Linked DNA regions of Homo sapiens: regions 1 and 2 are each linked to region 3. Evidence: promoter capture Hi-C in human tissues and cell types (Jung and others, 2019). All regions are on one chromosome and are shown on one strand. The core of a region is centred on a gene start or on the middle of the fragment in contact, and the rest is flanking DNA. Distances in the headings are between cores, read along the strand shown.

The links. The method cuts DNA at HindIII sites, captures the fragments that hold promoters and counts their contacts. A contact is called where the count stands out against the background at its distance.
Region 1: a contact is called between a fragment that was not itself captured here and the fragment with the promoter of GJA3 in region 3, in 2 of the 25 tissues and cell types used here (aorta and stomach).
Region 2: a fragment that was not itself captured here is called in contact with the fragment with the promoter of GJA3 in region 3 in 7 of the 25 tissues and cell types used here (IMR-90 fibroblasts, aorta, hippocampus and 4 more).

The regions. Positions count from the first base shown.
Region 1 is chr13:20,046,151-20,049,527 of GRCh38, forward strand. All of the region lies in intron 12 of ZMYM2 (zinc finger MYM-type containing 2), which reads left to right. Among named protein-coding and RNA genes, the nearest start is that of LINC01072, 55 kb to the right of the region's middle. The HindIII fragment of the contact is 4,455 bases long and covers 1-3,377 here.
Region 2 is chr13:20,094,585-20,097,911 of GRCh38, forward strand. No RefSeq gene overlaps it. Among named protein-coding and RNA genes, the nearest start is that of LINC01072, 6.5 kb to the right of the region's middle. The HindIII fragment of the contact is 4,460 bases long and covers 1-3,327 here.
Region 3 is chr13:20,159,081-20,162,468 of GRCh38, forward strand. It overlaps GJA3 (gap junction protein alpha 3), which reads right to left and starts at 1,972. Exons shown (of 2, transcript NM_021954.4): 1 at 1,810-1,972. RefSeq lists silencers at 1,703-1,792, 1,953-2,032, 2,263-2,622. The HindIII fragment of the contact is 27,118 bases long and covers 1-3,388 here.

The DNA of each region.
Region 1 (3,377 bases), core at 776-3,275, 110 kb before region 3:
CTGAGGCAAGAGAATTGCTTGAGCCCAGGAGTTCGAGGTGAGCTATGATTACACCACTGCACTTAAGCCTGGGTGACAGAGCAAGACCCTGTCTCAAAAAGGAAAACAAAAAATTACTGAGAGCGGTGGCTCACATCTTTAATCTCTGCCCTTTGGGAGGCTGAGGTGAGAGGGTTGTTTGAAGTTGGGAGTTCTAGTCCAGCCTGGGCAATACAGCAAGACCCCATCTCTACAAAAAATAAAAATAAAAAAAATTAGCCAGGCATGGTGGTGCATGCCTGTAGTCCTGGCTCCTTGGGAGGCTGAAGTGGAAGGATCACTTGAGTTCAGGTTTTTGAGGTGACAGTGAGCTCTGATCACACCACTGCACTCTGGCCTGGGGGACACAGTAAGACTTTGTCTCTAAAAAAAAAAATATATATATATATATATGTGTGTGTGTGTGTGTGTGTGTGTGTATATATATGTGTATATATATGTGTATATATATGTGTACATATGTATATGTGTGTATATATATGTGTGTATATATGTATATATGTGTGTGTGTGTATATATATATTAAAGAATAGGGAAGTTTGGGATTTGTTTCCCTTTTTTTGGGAAGCAAAGGTACGTTCTTTGACAAAAGACCATGTTATTGTAGATGTCGTGTGTTCCACCTTGCTATGTTTTTTAAAAGATAGTTATTTCTGTTTTCATTTATGCAGAATTCAGTGATGAGGATTTAATGAAGCAGTGCATTTCAGAATATACAAGAAATACTTTAGTCAAATACCGGGTTACAATCATCTAGTTATGTTTAATGTCAGTATTCTGTACCTTAAATACATTATATATTCATGCCTTATTTTAAACAGATCTTTGTATAATATACATAATAGGTTATATATTATACTAATCTGAGGAATAAAGGTAAGAATATTTTTGTTAGATGGTAGAAATTTATAAAGCAAGTAGCAATGCTGATGTTTCTGTACGATCAATATGCAGCACAATCTTTGAAGTGTGAAGAGTTGTCTCTCTTCATTCATCCTTGGTTTTGCTGCCTGCAGCCATTATTGTAATCAAATGGTAACTTTATTCTCTGTGCTTTCTACTTGAGTCAGACTGTATTTTCTTATACCCCCCCATGCATTCCTTCTATTCACTGTTGCCATGGTATCATCTTGAAAATGTGGTAAACTAATTATGGGGTCCCCCCCTTTTATGGTTTATCTTTTTTTATTTAAATACTCACAAGTTTATATATTAGTACATTAAAACCTATGACCCTTACAAATCATTCCGGCTTATCAGAAAAATAAGCTTCAAGCCAAAGGAAAAAAAGTGCTTCATCACAGAAACTTAAAAATCAACAGCTAGCCAATCTGGCTATTATTTCATGTTTAGCCATGAACATTTCTTAAATGGTAGTACACACACATTGTATTTTTACCTTCTCTTACCTTTGCACTTTAGATTGAGAGACAACTACCTATAGTATAAATAACTTCTACTTTTTTGTTTATTTAAATTTAGTTTTATGCTTTAAAAATTGTTTTACTTGACAAGACACTGAATGAGCTGTGTTTTCTGGTCTATATCATGGTTTGCTTCTAGATTTAAAATAGAGATTTATTAAATTCTTTCTCTTCTAAATTGGAATAAGAAATCTGTGACATCATGCAACCAAAAAATGCTGAAAATAAAATTAACGTATTTTTCTTCTCCCAGATACCTTTTTAGAAAGAAGTAGATTTTACTTTTCCTCAAGTAAATGTTTCCAGGCGTAATGAAAAACCTGATAGTTCTTTTGATCTTTGTAAGTTTAAAAGTTTTTAAGAAAAAGAATTTAGTATTGTAATACAATAATAGCTAGAAGGTGTTTGATAAATTGGTAAAGATAATATTTCAAAAGGTCCACTGTTTCCCAAGAGTATCTCTATTAAGACCTGAGCTTTTCTTAAACTGTATTACTTTTCGATTGCACAGTTTTTTAACACAGGCTTTGATTTGTTTTCCAAAGAAGTAATGAATGGTGGCAATATTAAATTCTTAATACAAATGCCCTCTAATAGTCTTAACAGTATGATTTATGGGCTTTAAATTAATAATATTAGACTTGTATAATTTTTCTTTATAAACAGCTATATCCATTTTTTTTAAAATTTTTTTGAAATTATTTTTAGGAAAATAATATTTAATATTCAAATATTGCCTTAAATATATATTTTTGGTCACCGGAGAATTCCTATGCTTTGCATAGTACCCAATCACCTTTTATCCCTGCATTCTTTTTTAAAAAAAATTTGTAGCGAATCACTCCATTGTGCTCAGAAAGCTGTATTGAGAAGTCATAAAGGATTTCTGCTTAAAATGTCTGTAAAATACCCCTATCTTTTTCGTATTCATGGTTCTCCCCTGGAAAATTAGGTTTGTTTGGTGAAATAGGGAGCAAATGGATAGGAAAGTTTAAAAAGATGTATATATCAGTCAAAAATGAAAAGTTGAAACTATCCAAGACATGAAAGGGACTGGGTCAGGATAGGCTGAATGACCTTTTGCCAGTTATTGAAAATGAAATTTCTGTTTAGCTGATAGGTTGGATTAAGGTTTTTGAGTCAGAGTTTAGTACCTGGCTGTTACTTAGATTTGTTTGAACCTGTGACTTGTTTTTTTTTTTTTTTCCCCCTCCCTCTTAGTTTGCTATCCTTGATTTCACAATGACAAGAAAACCACAAAATAGATGATGCAGTATTTTTAAAACCAGAGACTTGTGTCCCATTTATTTCATTTTTTATGATGTCTTAATAGTTCTTTTTTGCAAATGGCTAGGGAATGCGGCTTAGAGTGGAGTTGTGTTGGTGTTGGTAAGGAATGATGGTCATTAATGATCTTTTTAAATTGGCCACCATATTTTAGCTGAATTCCAAACACTTCACTAGGAGTTTGCATGAGTGGATGTCAAAGAAACAAAAGTTCACAACCTCCAAAATTTTGATTATGGCATTAAAGTTGGAATTATTAGTATTGAGTTCTCACTTACTGTTTTTTCATGCTGAAAAAATACATGCCTATTTTGTTTACATTTGTAAATTGGTATTAATCTTGCCCCTTTTTTCTTTGGGTAGAGGGAAATTATCTAAATTTGTTTTGAACCTTTAAAAGAAGAAGGGAGCTTCAAGTGTTGATTCTATAAAAACCAAGTGTCTAATTGTAGAACGATGAAGTGATTCCATTGTTCAAATTCTTGAGGTGGAATGTGTTTAATTTTATGCCCTTGATCTTCCAAATTATTGTATAAACGGAAATACTACTACTAAGAGTCAGCATAGTACATGTAATGATTTGAATTAATACAGATTTCTGTTTTAAATGTTAAATTGAGAATCTTC
Region 2 (3,327 bases), core at 729-3,228, 64 kb before region 3:
ATTTTAAATGACTCTTCAAGTTTTCAAGCAAGTCTTTTTGCCAAAAGGCCAGTATTCTTAAACAAGCTTATTTTCTCTGGATACATTTCTTTGGCTGCTGCAATCAAATGCAATTTAATTACTATTGGGAAGCGGTTTTCCTTGTTTGGCTAACAAATGAGCCGCTGGAAACTTACTTTGGTTGCAGCCTCATTTGAATTTTTTATTTTTTGAGGAAATTGTACTGGAATGAGAGGTTCTGTTTTAAATTTTCTAATTTTTCTGACCGCTGCTCTCCTGTGAGTTGGACATACCGTGAGGAGGGCTCAGTCTGGTCATGTTGATGGACACTGTTCTTTAGCATCGCTATCATGTCATTTCACAAGAAACACAAAACCAGCTAATTCAATAGCAGAATCCAACTCCACTGTGCATTAACAGTGGGACACCCAGAGAACACTTTAATTGCTTTGACATGGTGAGTTCGCACTGTGAAAATAAGTTGTTGGTGTGGCAATGTGCATGACACTGGAAACAGTGATGTGAAGCCCTCACTGCAGTGGGCTAAGCAGCAGCACAGAGGTGAGAGTGCCACAGGCTGCTCCGTCATAGCTCCTCAGCCTTGTCCTTGTAGCAAAATAGCCACCAAAGGCCATAAATAAGTGAAAAAGTGTGCCTGTGTTTTAATACAGCCTTATTCATGGAAATATTTGAATGTTACATGCCACAAAATATTTTTTAAAATGTCTCCATTAAAAAATGCATAAACCATCCTTAGCTAGTGTGCCTCGTAGAAATGGGTCGTAGGTAAGACTTGGTCTGCAGTCTGAAGCTTGCCAATTCCTACTTAAGTTGCTAACCTTGCTTTCTACTTCAATTTCTTTTAAATGCAATTTTATTTATTTATTTTTGAGACTGAGTCTTGCTCTGTCGCCCTGGTTGGGGTGTAGTGGCGCAATCTCGGCTCGCTGCAACTTCTGCCTCCGGGGTTCAAGCAATTCTCATGCCTCAGTGTCCTGAGTAGCTGGGATGACAGGCACGTGTCACCACGCCTGGCTAATTTTTGTATTTTTAGTAGAGACAGGGTTTCACCATGTTGGCCAGGCTGGTCTTGACCTCGTGACCTCAACTGATCGGCCTTCCTCGGCTTCCCAAAGTGCTGGGATTACAGGCGTGAGCCACCGTGCCCAGCCTAAGTACAATTTTAAAGCAATCAAAAGAGACTTCCATTGATCCCACCATCACTTCTACCCACCTGCAAGCATACTGATTGTTCGCTTTAGCACAAAAGCTGCTGTTGATCTGATCATCTTTAAAACAACCCTTTTTTAACTCTACTTCCCTCCACTTCATTTCTTTGCTTTCCTTTAGAGCAGAATTCCTCAAAAGTTGTCTAGCCTTATGGTAATTCCTGTTTTCTCTCAGATATCAAGAAGGTTTTTGTCCCAAATCCCACTGACTACTCTTACAAATGCCACTCATGACCTCCATGTTAAATCCAGTGGGTAATTCTTTTTTTGTTGTTTTTTGAGACAGTGTTTTGCTGTGTCACTCACCCAGGCTGGAGTGCAGTAGTGCGCAGCCTGGACCTCCGAGACTCAAGCGATCCTCCTGCCTCAGCCTTCTGAGTAGCTAGGACTAACAGGTGCACTCCACCATGCTTGGCTAATTTTTGTATTTTTTGTAGAAAAGGGGTTTCACCATGTTTCCCAGGCTGGTCTTGAACTCCTGAGCTCCAGCAATCCTCCTACCTCAGCCTCCCAAAGTGCTGGGCTTACAGGAGTGAACCACCATGCCCCGCCCCATAGGTAATTCTTAATCATCGTATTACTTAGCATTTTAAACTGCAGCGCATGACTTCCTTTATGAAACATATTTTTAAACTTAGTTGCCTGTATTCTATGGTCTCCTGATTTTTCTCCTACTTCATATGGCTCTTCTCAGTATTCTTTGCTAATACCATCCTTAGCCCCTAACCTTTTAAAGTCAGGATGTCCAGAGCTCAGTTCTTGAGCCTCTTATCTAACTTAAATCTTTGGGGTTCTTAGGTAGTCTCAACGGCTTTAAAAGCCACCAATACACTGAAAACTCTACTACATGTATTGACTGTATATCTCCAACTTCGGGAATAGATGAATAATGACCTTATTTTGTTCTAGTGTTTTAGCTGTATTAACTCAGTTAGTACAACTACCCTGTAAGCCAAAGGGCAGAAAACCTTTCTATTAAGGGCCAGAGAGTAACTATTTGAGGCTTTGTGAGCTTCCTAATGTGCCCCGAATTCCTTCTGGTGGGTTTTTGGTCTCGCTGACTTCAAGAATGAAGCCGCAGACCTCGTGGTTAGTGTTACAGCTCTTAAAGGTGGCGCATCCGAGTTTATGCCTTCAAATGTTCAGATGTGTCCGGAGTTTCTTCTTTCCGGTGAGTTCGCAGTCTCGCTGACTTCAGGAGTGAAGCCCTAGACCCTGGTGGTGCGTGTTACAGCTCATAAAGGTAGTAAGGACCCAAAGGGTAAGCACCAGTAAGATTTATTGTGAAGAGGAAAAGAACTATGATTCCACACCATGGAAATGGACCCGAGAAGTTGCGGCGGGTGGGGGTGGGGGTGGGGGGGCAGGCAGGTGGGCGGTGGGTGGGGGGGGGTGGCCAGCTTTTATTCCCTTATTTGGCTCTGCCCATGTCCTGCTGATTGGTCCATTTTACAGAGCACTGATTGGTCCATTTTGCAGAGTGCTGACTGGTCCACTTTACAGAGTGCTGATTGGTCCATTTTACAGACTGCTGATTGGTGCAGTTACAATCCTTTAGCTAGACACAGATGCTGATTGGTACATTTACAATCCTTCAGCTAGACACGAAAGTTCTCCAAGTCCCCACCCGACCCAGAAGCCCAGCTGGCTTCACCTCTTACTAACATTTTGTTGCATGTTCTTTTATGAGTTTTTTTGCATGCTTTACAACCGTTTAAAATGTGAAAACCATTCTTAGCTCATAGGCCATACATAAACAGGCCATGGGCCAGATTTGCACTGATGGCTGTGGTGTGCTGACCCCTGCCATAAGCTATTACAGAGTAGTGTGTTATTATCCCCGTTTTACATATGGAGACACTGAGGCACAGAGTTCAAATAACTTGCCCACACTCATCAGCTAGCAAATGAAACGAGGGTTCCAACAGGCAGTCTGGGCTCCAAGTCTGTGTGCCTAATCGCCACACTGCTTAGAAAGTCAAAATACGTTTCGGTAAAAAGGAAAGCTAACCAAAAGCTAGCAATTTATGCCCCAGAACGCCAAAAAGTCTTAGGAATTGGAAGCATCAGACACTCTAAAGATCAGATATAGGCGATT
Region 3 (3,388 bases), core at 722-3,221:
CTGTTTTTTAGAGACATATATGCTGTTGTCACATATATTGGATTTTTTCCCTCCTCAATTCAGTAAACATTTATTATTATTATAAAACATTATTACCTATTGTGTGTGGCACTGTGCCACACACTGAGGACAGCAAAACAATTAAGATCCAGTCCTCACTCTCAGGAGATTCATTTGCAATCTATGAGAGAGGCAGAGTGGCAAAAAACAGATCAAAATGTAAGTACTACATAGTACTGGGAATAGCTACCATCCAGCGGAGGGAGGAAGAAGGCATGGTGGTAGACGCCTGTAGTCCCAGCTACTCGGGAGGTTGCAGTGAGCCGAGATCGCACCACTGCACTCCAGCCTGGGTGACAGAGCGAGACTCCATCTCAAAAAAAAAAAAAAAAAAAAAAAAAAAAAAGGCTGCGATAAACGTAATTTTTCGTTTCAAATGTAGTGTGTACACGTTATTTTAGCTAAGAGAAATGAATATAATAAGTTAAAATGTGAGTAACATTCAAGAAAACTGGGTCAAAAATATTTTCCTTATTGGCAAAAAATTTTGTTACCCGCCATTCTTTTAAGACAGCTTTCAGCCAGTTAACGGTTCCTGGTTAAGAAACAGTACTGTCTGATTTGTTAGAGTAGTACCGTTTCGTGAATTACTTTCCACTACAGCAACACATGCATTGCCCTTATGAGATGCTTATCTCGATATGAACCAAACTGCTGAGCAGGTGGAATCTGTGCCAAACTAGCTGATGTTTACTTTGAACACACTGATATTCGGAAAATAAATCCCTCTTTTTTCCTCTTTAATCTTTTAATGTTTGTCTTGCACATGGATGGACCGCCAGTGAAGTGATGCGCACATCATAAATCACCATGGTTTTTAATTCCTGGGTGATGAGACCCATAATTCGCTTGTCAGCTGTTTGTATAGAATCATTTTTAAATGGCATGTTTTGGAGACATCTTGATAAAATAAAAACTGGAGTTCTAAAGTTGCAGTCACATATTCACGAACCGAGAACTCTACATGGTAGGATGAATTTTGCTCACTAGTGTGGAGTCGGCAACAAAGCAAATGCAGCCGCGTCACTGCCGTTTGTTTTCTCAAGTCTCCTACGGGAAGGGGCTCGGACAGTGCTTTTCCACTCCTCTGCAAATTCCTTATAGTTGAACACATCATAACAAACATACAGGTCGAGAAATCTGGTCGTGGCATTAATAGCTACAGTGTTTCTTAAAAATAAAAAGTTTTAAAAAGTTTCTGAAAAAAATGTAGGCGAGCCAACCTTGTTTCTAAACAATCCCAACAGGACTTTTAGGAGCACGGCGATGCTGAATGCCCGTGGACGGCTGGGTGCGCGCCGTTAGCTGGCGCGGTGACATCTGCTTAGAGTTTTCAAGCATTTCAGCATCGCTAGGAGCCCTACAGCCTGACGGTCCGGGACAGCCCGGCTTCCTCCACCCGAGGGGGAAAACAACCCCAGGAAAACAACTTAAACTCGGCCTTGGACTGTCCATCAAGGGAAGCCAAACGAGGCGCTGCTCTCCAGACCTCCAGGAGCAAAGGAGGAAGATCAATTATTCCAAAAGTTTCTCACAAATTTCCCGAGCTCCCCACAACTTTTTGAAGAATCCTGAAAGAATCCTAGGGGGCTGGGAGCCGCACACGTGCCGGGGCTCGGCTTCCCAGCTCGGCAGTCTCAGCCCGCTGGGCTCGCCCGGCAGCTCCGCTGCGCCGCCGACCCGCCCGTCCCCGCCCCGCGCTGCCCTCGGCCCCTGTGCCTGGCCTCCGGGGCGCCCGGCCCGCCTTACCCCGCTCTGCCGCGGCGGCGACCCGGGTGCGTTCCTCCGGAGCAGGGCTCCCGGCCGCTCTGAAAAGAATTCCTTTCACACGTGCGGTGCTGCTTCACGCGTGCGCCCCGCGCCAGGGCCCGACCTCCCCGCCCTGATCGCCATCCCTGCAGCCCCAGTGTGCGCTGCGCCCGACGCCCCCAAGCTGCAGCTCAGGACGCCGCGCCACGCCCCCGCCGCCTCCGAACAGCCCCGCCCCGCGCGCTTCCCAGCACGCACACCTACCGCCCCCGCATCCCTACCCTGTACGCGCAGCCACAGCACTCGCCCGCGTCCGCATTCCACACCCTACCCCGCGCGCACGTCCATGCCTAGCGCCTGCATCCCCATCCCGCACCTGCGCGGGCCCTGGGGATGTGGACGCGGGGGCTCTTCCCTGCCGCCTACGCACTCCGGGGCATGCCCGCGCGGGACGTGAGAGGAGAGCCGAGGGCTGTTGGGGCGGGCCCGACCCGCTTGCGGGGCGCCCACCGCACGCAGATGCGCCAGCCCGCGCCCCGCTCGCGCCTGTCCTGGGCTTCGCAGGCCCGGCGAGGTAGCTGCTCTCCGGGCGCTCCCACGGTCGGAGGCGCGTGGGCGTCGGGCACCTAGGTCTCGCCCGCCTGCAGCCGCCTGGGGACGCGGGTTCCGGACGGCTGGCGCGGGGCGGGGCGGGGACCACCGAGCAGGAAGTCCCCGCGGAAGCGCCGCCGGGCACAGCGTGGGTGCTGTCGAGGAGTGGCGCCCGGGCGGGGCGGGAGGTTATAAATAGCGGCCGCCATCCTGCTTCTCTTCAGACACACTTAATTTAGCCGGCAGGCACACGGATGCTTATTTTTAAAAAAAGAACTTGTTTTATTGCGCTCGAGGTGACCGGGAAGGTGTCCCCGCGGGTCACTCGCTCCATCTGGTCCTGGAGACGAGATGCCAGGGCGAGGCCTAACCTGCCTGCTGGCGCCCAACGAAGATTTTAACGTTTTCTGTTCCCTTCGGGGTGGTTTTACCACGCTTGAGAGGGACGCCTACCGCGGAAGGCCGCGGACCGAGGGCGGCATCGCGTCCTTGTCTGCTGTCTGGGCACAGCCTAGAGAGGCCGCGGGTCCCCTCCCCGTCCCCCAAGGTCTGGAGTGGGGTTTGACCAGCCTGGGATATTAACAAATATCGGTGGACTGCATTTCGGTGATCATTCCACAAGCTGAAATGGCTTCAAAATCACCTTTATGAGTAATAAGTTTATTCCAGGAATGTGGCAAAATGCAAGTCTGATAGTTTTCGTGTCTTCATGGAGCAGCTTCCGTCGGCTGCCTTCGTTAGCGTTTAGATCTACTCGGATTAGCAGTTGGCTTGCCCTGAAAAATGCGTTTGTTCTGCTGAGATCTGAATTTAAAGTTATCCCAAGGAGGAAAAACTAAGCTCCTAAAGGCGCATCTAAAATATCTTCTCCCTTTGGGAACTTTGCGGTGTATGTATGGAGTAGGTAGTAGTTACGGAGACTTAGTTTTTAATTTTTAATTGAAAAATGCTACCTTTGAAGGTCTTAAAATACTTGAATATTTTTCTC